Linked DNA regions of Homo sapiens: region 1 is linked to region 2. The links are contacts of gene promoters, found by promoter capture Hi-C in blood cells and fetal thymus (Javierre and others, 2016). All regions are on one chromosome and are shown on one strand. The core of a region is centred on a gene start or on the middle of the fragment in contact, and the rest is flanking DNA. Distances in the headings are between cores, read along the strand shown. Region 1 overlaps TLE4 (TLE family member 4, transcriptional corepressor). Region 2 holds the start of KIF27 (kinesin family member 27).

Region 1 (3,887 bases), core at 575-3,074, 4.3 Mb after region 2:
TGCAGAGGTCCCAAGCACACCACAGCCAGCCCAGGTTGGGGATAGAGTATTGTCTCGCACCGGGAGAGAAGTTATCCTTTCATTCCGTGAAACGCAGAAGCTGCCTCCACCATACAATTCTTGAAATGTGTGTGGGCAAATCCTCAAAAGAGATGACAGTGCGATCCACTCACCAGAGGACAGAGTACCTAAGGGGTATCCCAGAGTACTTCTCTTCTGCTTATTTGATGAACCAGCTAAGAAAATCCACACCCTGCCCATGTGTCACCCCTGGATGGAATAAGGGTTACACGTGCAGCTCTCCAGGGATAAGTTTTGGGTCAATGATATAGAAATAGCAACAGCCTGGCATAAATGCTGGGTAAGTTCCAATGAAAAGAGAGAGGGTATATAGATTTGTGGTGATGAATGCCAGCTAAATCCCTCTCCATAGATAGAAAACAACTACCACTGAGAGCTATTACTAAGGCAAAGACAAAACAGCTCTAACTCTTGCTTCTGACTAAAACTTCTGAGGCCCTTCCTCTTTAGAGTAATAATTTCATAAACTGTTCGCAGTATACTTACTTTGAACAAGTCCTAAGCCTTGCAAACTGTCATTATCAGTGTAAATACTCCATTGCCCATGCGTAAATGTGCTGCCCCCCTGCTTCTCTCCAACAGCCCAGCTTACAAAACTGGTAATAACTTAGCTAGTATAGGACCACTGAACCTACCACCATTGCTGGAACGCTGGAGTCATTTTAAGAGGGTGTGTAGAGGGATCAAGAAAGTGCCTTCTAGAACTCACATCCCTGTCCCTCTTTTCTCTAGCCACCAAATACATTATTGCTGTCCAGAAGTGGTAAACCAAACCATCGAATCACATCAAAGGCAAAAAAAAAAAAAAAAAGCCACATTAAAAACAAACACAAATAACTTATAAATGCATTTTTTAAACATTTAATTCCCAACTGGTTTCCTCTACCTATCTTATAACACAAGAAAAAAAAGAAGAAATAAAAAAGATGTATTCTAGGAAAGCAAAGATTAAATGAAGAATGTGAAGAACAATGGGCTGGTGCTTGTATTGTCTCCTTCACCAGTGCTGCAACAGCACCTAGAGATGTAGCTCATTAGTCCGGTCCATCATTCCTACACAGATCAAAGTGATATATACCTAGATACAAAGAACTTTGCCCATCAAAATAATAAATACAAATAAATAATATCCAGCAGGGATTAAGGGGCAGTGAAAAGGAACTATCCTTTTGTTTGAATGCTGCAAAGAAATTCTTTTAACAGTAAAAGCAAAACATCTGCCTTCATTTAAAACTGAGTTGTGTGATTTCCTGCATCGACGAACCTCTTTCTAAACTACAAAGAGGCTACAAAACATCACATTTTCCCCTCCCAGCTTCCCCCTTCAAAAGCCCACAAGATGGTGATTAACAAACAGCCCCTTGTCTGTAGGCACTCTCATAAGCCACAGGAAAAGATAAAAGTTAAAGAGAAGAACAAGTTTGTAAACAAATGAGAAATAGGTTGCCTAGGGAGGAAGCAAATTCCATCTTGATAAGCAAGCAGCTTCCCTAGCCCACATGTGGGAGATTCCGAGTGAAAGCAACCTCACCCTCTCACCCACTGAAAGCAGTCTGCAAGCAGAGGGCAGGCTGAGCCATCCATGGACTCTAGGCAGTTGCAGAGAATCCCCCAACTCAAGAGGTTCTGCGTATGAGCCTAAAGTTCAGGGACTCTCTATTTCAGGAATGAACTGGGGCCTGAATCTCTAACCCATAGCAAACCCATCTCCCAGGAGATATCCTCCCACATAAATTTATTTGAAGTCCTGAATCCACCAACTATTAGCTGTATCACCTTGTGCAGAGCTGACCCTGTTTAATCAACTTTTGATTGGATATAATCCCTGTCTTAGGATCATTATGAGAACTAACGATAAGAATTTTGGCAGTGTGCCCAGACCAGTGGTAAGCGCAAGCCAGATATATAATAAATGTTTACTTCTATTGAAAGGAAATTCCAATTTCACTCAAGAATCACTGCCTTAGGTGAAAAATCCAGATATCCTCCTATGGTATCTCTAGAAAGACAAAAGAATCCATCATGGGAGAAGGAAAAAGGGAACTCCCCACAGTATTCGGAAAACACACACCCTAAAACATACACACACTGTAACAGGTTAAATTTCATCCTCCAGATCTGCTTCCCGTGCAGGTGCTGTAATAAGTAAAAGGACAGGTCACTGGGTCCTGCCCAAGGTGCTTCCACTTACTTATCAACTGCCCTAATACTAGACCTTCTGAAGGGTTTTGGGAAAAAATCTAATTTAAAACCTACACTCATTTAGATTTACTAAACAGGAGTAAATGAAGTTGGCCTCCTATTTTAAAATGCCCAAATGAGAGGTAAAGGGGAAAAAACACCACCAATACCCTTCACTCCGTTAACATTAATTGTGGAATATTATCAGCGTGTAAATAATCTTAAATTAGAAAAGGTGGCTTTAAACCTTAATGAAAACCAAAAACACAAGAACCCTTCCCACCCCCACACACATAGTCTTATAATTGTATCTGAAGTTTATGCAGACATCAAAATTTCACTTGTCATCTTTAAGATTTTATAATCTAGTAGTATCTACCCACTATTCAGGCCCTCTAGATTGTTATTTCCTAATATTTCTGAAGCAAGATAAAGTTCTGTCAGCAAAATCTTCATTTATTAGTTACTTTCAGCTAGAACACCCCATCTTCCATGATAGTTCACTCTCATTATTATACAAGAGTTCAATTATACCTATCTCTGAAAAAAAAAAAGGCACTGGGTAAGAATATAACAGACACATTTGTGCCTCCATACTAAAACACCTACTCCTCCATCTACTCTTCTAAATCTAAGAGTACACAATAAGACAGAAGATGTGCAAAAAACTGGCAAGGTTGAAAAAAAAAGTTATCATAAGGGAAATGTGGTCTAAAATGAACTTTCAACAAACTTCATAGCAAGCAGTGTCCCCAAATAAATTTACTGCACCCTAGATTCAAGTACACTCAAGGCTAGAATGTCATGCCAGTCATGTATTACTTCAATCTCAATAAATCTCTTCTTACTCTCCAAATCCTAGCTGCTTTCTAAAATAGTTCACTAAAAAACACCAACCTAATTAACAACAGCTTCCTCTGCAACAGTGGCCTTGATTTCACTTATTTACACATTAACTGCAGCCTGCTTTTGGCCAATCCAGTCTATTCTCTGTACCATGCCGAGCCTTTTATCTGCCCTGGACAGCATTTTCTCCAGCAGATGAAGTAGATGCCGATTGATTTGCTGTCGAGCATGGTAAATTAATAGCAACAAATTGCTGAGGGCCCGTCTCGCTGCTCCACCATGCTTCGGCAGTTTTGCTTTATTTGCTCCATGATGGGCAGCAGTCGGCCTCTTCAAGTCAATTTCTTCTTAACAACCTGCAATACTTTTCAATGGTGAAAATAGAGCTGTTCCTTGTAAGTCAGAAATCAATATCTTATTGCCCTTAGAAAATGCTAAACAAGCAGTATTGGCAATCCACTTGGTACTAGAGGGTATCAGATACAATGCAAATCCATACTGCTTCCCTCCTTGTAGTTATTACAGTTTGCTAAAAGGTTCCTAATGTCATTTATCATCATTTACCATCGACCAAAGAGGCTATGATTATGATATCCTATCAGTTGGCAAGGCCCTTTCATTTCTATTCAATTAATATTTTAGCAGCACTCAAATGGTTGTGGCCCAAGTCTCGTAATAAAATTTACATGGCTTTAAGTGAAACAGGAGTTTTCTTGCTTTGATTAAATATACATATATATATACACACACACACACACAAATACACACACATATAAAAA
Region 2 (3,392 bases), core at 709-3,208:
TCATTATGTTGCCCAGGCTGGTCTCAAACTCCTGGGCTCAAGTGACCCTCCCAGTTCAGCCTCCCAAAGTGCTGAGATTACAGGTGTGAGCCACTGTGCCCAGACTGAATTTTTAAAATTTTAAATAATTCAGTTAAAAGAAAAAAAAATAAAAACTATAAATAAAATAGTCAGCTTTTTTCCCCCACCTTCATTCCTATATTTCATGAGAGAAGGAAGGGTTTTTGAAGATGCTTAGATTGTGCTACTAAAAACAGGAGGCATTAAAGCATTTAAAACTAAATTGGTAAAGTTAAATATTACCATACGACCCAGCAATTCCACTCTTACGTCCATACCTAAAAGACCTGAAAACAGGCTCGGCGCGGTGGCTCACGCCTATAATCCCAGCACTTTGGGAGGCCAAGGTGGGCGGATCACCTGAGGTCGGGAGTTCGAGCCCAGCCTGACCAACATGGTGAAACCCCGTCTCTACTAAAAATACAGAAAACTTAGCCAGGCGTGGTGGTGGCACATGCCTGTAATCCCAGCTACTCCAGAGGCTGAGGCAGGAGAATTGCTTGAACCCATGAGGCGGAGCTTGCAGTGAGTTGAGATAGCGCCACTGCACTCCAGCCTGGGCAACAGAGCGAGACTCCATCTCAAAAAAAAAAAAGGAACTGAAAACAGACATCCAAATATTGTATGTGAATGTCCATAGCAGCATGGAAACAGCCCAAATGTCCACCACCAGCTGAAGAATGGATAAACAAAATGTGGTATGTCTATATCCATACAATGGAATTTTTTCAGCCCTAAAAAGTCCTGATAGGGCCGGGCAGGGTGGCTCATGCCTGTAATCCCAGCTACTCCGGAGGCTGAGGCAGGAGAATCGCTTGAACCCATGAGGTGGAGGTTGCGTTGAGCCTAGATGGCGCCATTGCATTCCAGCCTGGGCAATAAGAGCGAAACTCCATCTAAAGGGCCGGGCGTGGTGGCTCACGCCTGTAATCCCAGCACTTTGGAAGGCCGAGGCGGGCAGATCACGAGGTCAGGAGATCAAGACCATCCTGGCTAACACAGTGAAACAAACCCCGTCTCTACTAAAAATACAAAAAATTAGCCGGGCGTGGTGGCACGCGCCTGTAATCCCAGCTACTCGGGAGGCTAAGGCAGGAGAATCGCTTGAACCCGGGAGGTGGAGGTTGCAGAGAGCCGAGATCACGCCACTGCACTCCAGCTTGGGCGACAGAGCGCGACTCGGTCTCAAAAAAAAGAAAAGAAAAAAAAGAAAAGAAGTCCTGATAGATGTTACAACATGACTGCATCTTGAAAACATTAAGCAAAAGAAGCTAGACACAAAAGGTCATATACTGAATGATTCCATCAATAAAGAAATGCCCAGAATAGGTAAAGCTATCACAGAGTCAGAAAGTAGATTAGTGGCTGGCTGGGGTTGTGGGGAGAGGGGAACCAGAAGGAATGACTGCTAACTGGTTTGGGGATTTTCTTTTGGGGTTATGAAAATGTTTCTGAACTATATACAGAGGTGATGGTTGCACAACACTGTGAATGCATTAAACGCCACTGAATTGTGAGTTTTAAGATGGTTTATGTTAGGCAAGTTTTACTCAATAAAAATAAAAATAAACTGAATTGGTAGCTAAGATATTGAAACACGGTGTGGAATCGTTCTCACTCATTTCACGAACCCGTAGAAAGATGCTTGCGCTCAGGCCTCACAGACCGGTCCCAGCGCGTTGGTGGGACACAACTCGGATTTGCAGGCAAGCCCAGGGGCCGGCCCTTTGCGGACTTCCTGGGGACGCAGGACTCCTGCGCGGCGGGCTTGGAGGCGTGGCCAGGATGGGGGCGGGGCCAGGACGCGGCATCCAGGAGAGGACGCGGCGGGAGGCGGGCTTCGCCGGTTGCCAGGAGAACTCGCGACAACAAAAGACGCGGACGGCGGCTGCGCGGTGTGGCAGAGCGAAGCTGAGGAGTCCAGCGCTCGCCGACAGGGGCCTGGGCTGTCCCGAGCCGGTCAGTGCTCGGCGGGCCTGGCGGGCGGTGCGGGGAAGTGGGGCGCCCTCCCTTCGCGGTGCCCGCCCTCCAGCCCGCCGCGCCCGCCGCTCCCGCGCCCCCAGCCGGCCGTTGGGACTAGTAGGCTCCGGCTTGGGGTCGGGGCCGCCGCGGGTGGGTAGCGGAGGGTGGGCGGTTGGGGCGCCAGCTAGGCCTATGGGGGCGTCCGAGGGGTCTGGGGTCGGGGCTGGGAGCCGGCGAGCGACTAGAGGCAGAGCGCCCCTTCCGGAGGAAGTTGGGTCAGCCCTGAGGAGCGGGTCCCGGGGAACACCGATCGACCGGAACGCGGGACCCGGCCTTTCAGAGCGCACCCTGTGTTCGTCTCGTGTCGCTGCACGGCGTGAGGTGCGACGCGAGGGCCACCACCACCGAGCGCTTTGTTTTATCGCAGGCGTCTTTTTCCCACCGTAGAGGTTGAAACTTGGGCGCATTTCCCACCGTAGAGGTTGAAACTTGGGCGCATTTCCCACCGTAGAGGTTGAAACTTGGGCGCATTTCCTACCGTAGAGGTTGAACCTTGGGCACATTCAAGCCCGAGAGCTCCCTCCCTCGGAGGCAGGTGACTATAAAGAGCAAAGCGCCCAGATTCTTTCTTTGAAACACCTTTTAAGTAACACCTTTTAAGTCTCCAGTGTTGAAAATCCTTGTTGTTTGCCCTTCTTTACTCTTTTGTCGTCTTTACGCATTTGGGGCCTTTTCTGAGCTCCGTATGCGATTTACTGTCCATCTACTGGCAAGTTTTTTATGAAAATAATTAACAAACCACACATTTAAGACAACCACTGCTTTCTGGGAAATCAAGGGTACGGGATGGCAACGGTTTTTGGAGACACTCATTCCTGACCAGTGACATGACATGAGGGATTCAATATTTCTCTTGCCTTTGCTCAGATTTCAAAAACCCGTTGAGTATACTTAAATACGACCAATCAGATTTTGCTTTTTTTTAAATCATTTATTGGCAACATAATACGTATGTTTCTGATGACTATAATTGATCAGAATCTGAAGTATAAGTGCTATGGATTGTGTAAAAACTTTATTTCTTGTATATTGATGTTTTACAAGCCCTATGTTTGTGGACCATTACTATTGTTTGTTTGTTTTGTTTTGAGACAGGGTCTCGCTCTGTTACTCAGGCTGGAGTGCAGTGGCACACTGCAGCCTCAACCTCCCGGGCTCAAGCGATCCTCCAATCTCAGCCTCCCAAGTAGCTGGGACTACAGGTGCGTCACCACAGCCTGGCACATTCTTGTATTTTTAGTAGAGACAGGGTTTCACCATGTTGCCCAGGCTGGTCTGGAACTCGTGGGCTGAAGCGATCCACCTGCCTT

Evidence for each region. Contacts are between HindIII fragments. The CHiCAGO score rates a contact against its expected background, and 5 or more counts as called.
Region 1: a fragment that was not itself captured here is called in contact with the fragment with the promoter of KIF27 in region 2 in 1 of 17 cell types (non-activated CD4 T cells); the score reaches 5.3 in non-activated CD4 T cells.

What each region holds. Positions count from the first base shown.
Region 1 is chr9:79,579,645-79,583,531 of GRCh38, reverse strand. The region is part of intron 4 of TLE4 (TLE family member 4, transcriptional corepressor); the gene reads right to left. Among named protein-coding and RNA genes, the nearest start is that of TLE4, 9.6 kb to the right of the region's middle. The HindIII fragment of the contact is 4,336 bases long and covers 1-3,887 here.
Region 2 is chr9:83,919,998-83,923,389 of GRCh38, reverse strand. It overlaps KIF27 (kinesin family member 27), which reads left to right and starts at 1,958. Exons shown (of 18, transcript NM_017576.4): 1 at 1,958-2,019. It overlaps LOC105376335 (serine/arginine repetitive matrix protein 1-like), which reads right to left and starts at 2,489. Exons shown (of 3, transcript XM_011519284.2): 1 at 2,129-2,489; 2 at 1,692-2,036. The coding sequence starts at 2,489. RefSeq lists enhancers at 558-1,062, 1,677-2,426 and silencers at 1,796-1,945, 1,976-2,355. The HindIII fragment of the contact is 5,103 bases long and covers 1-3,392 here.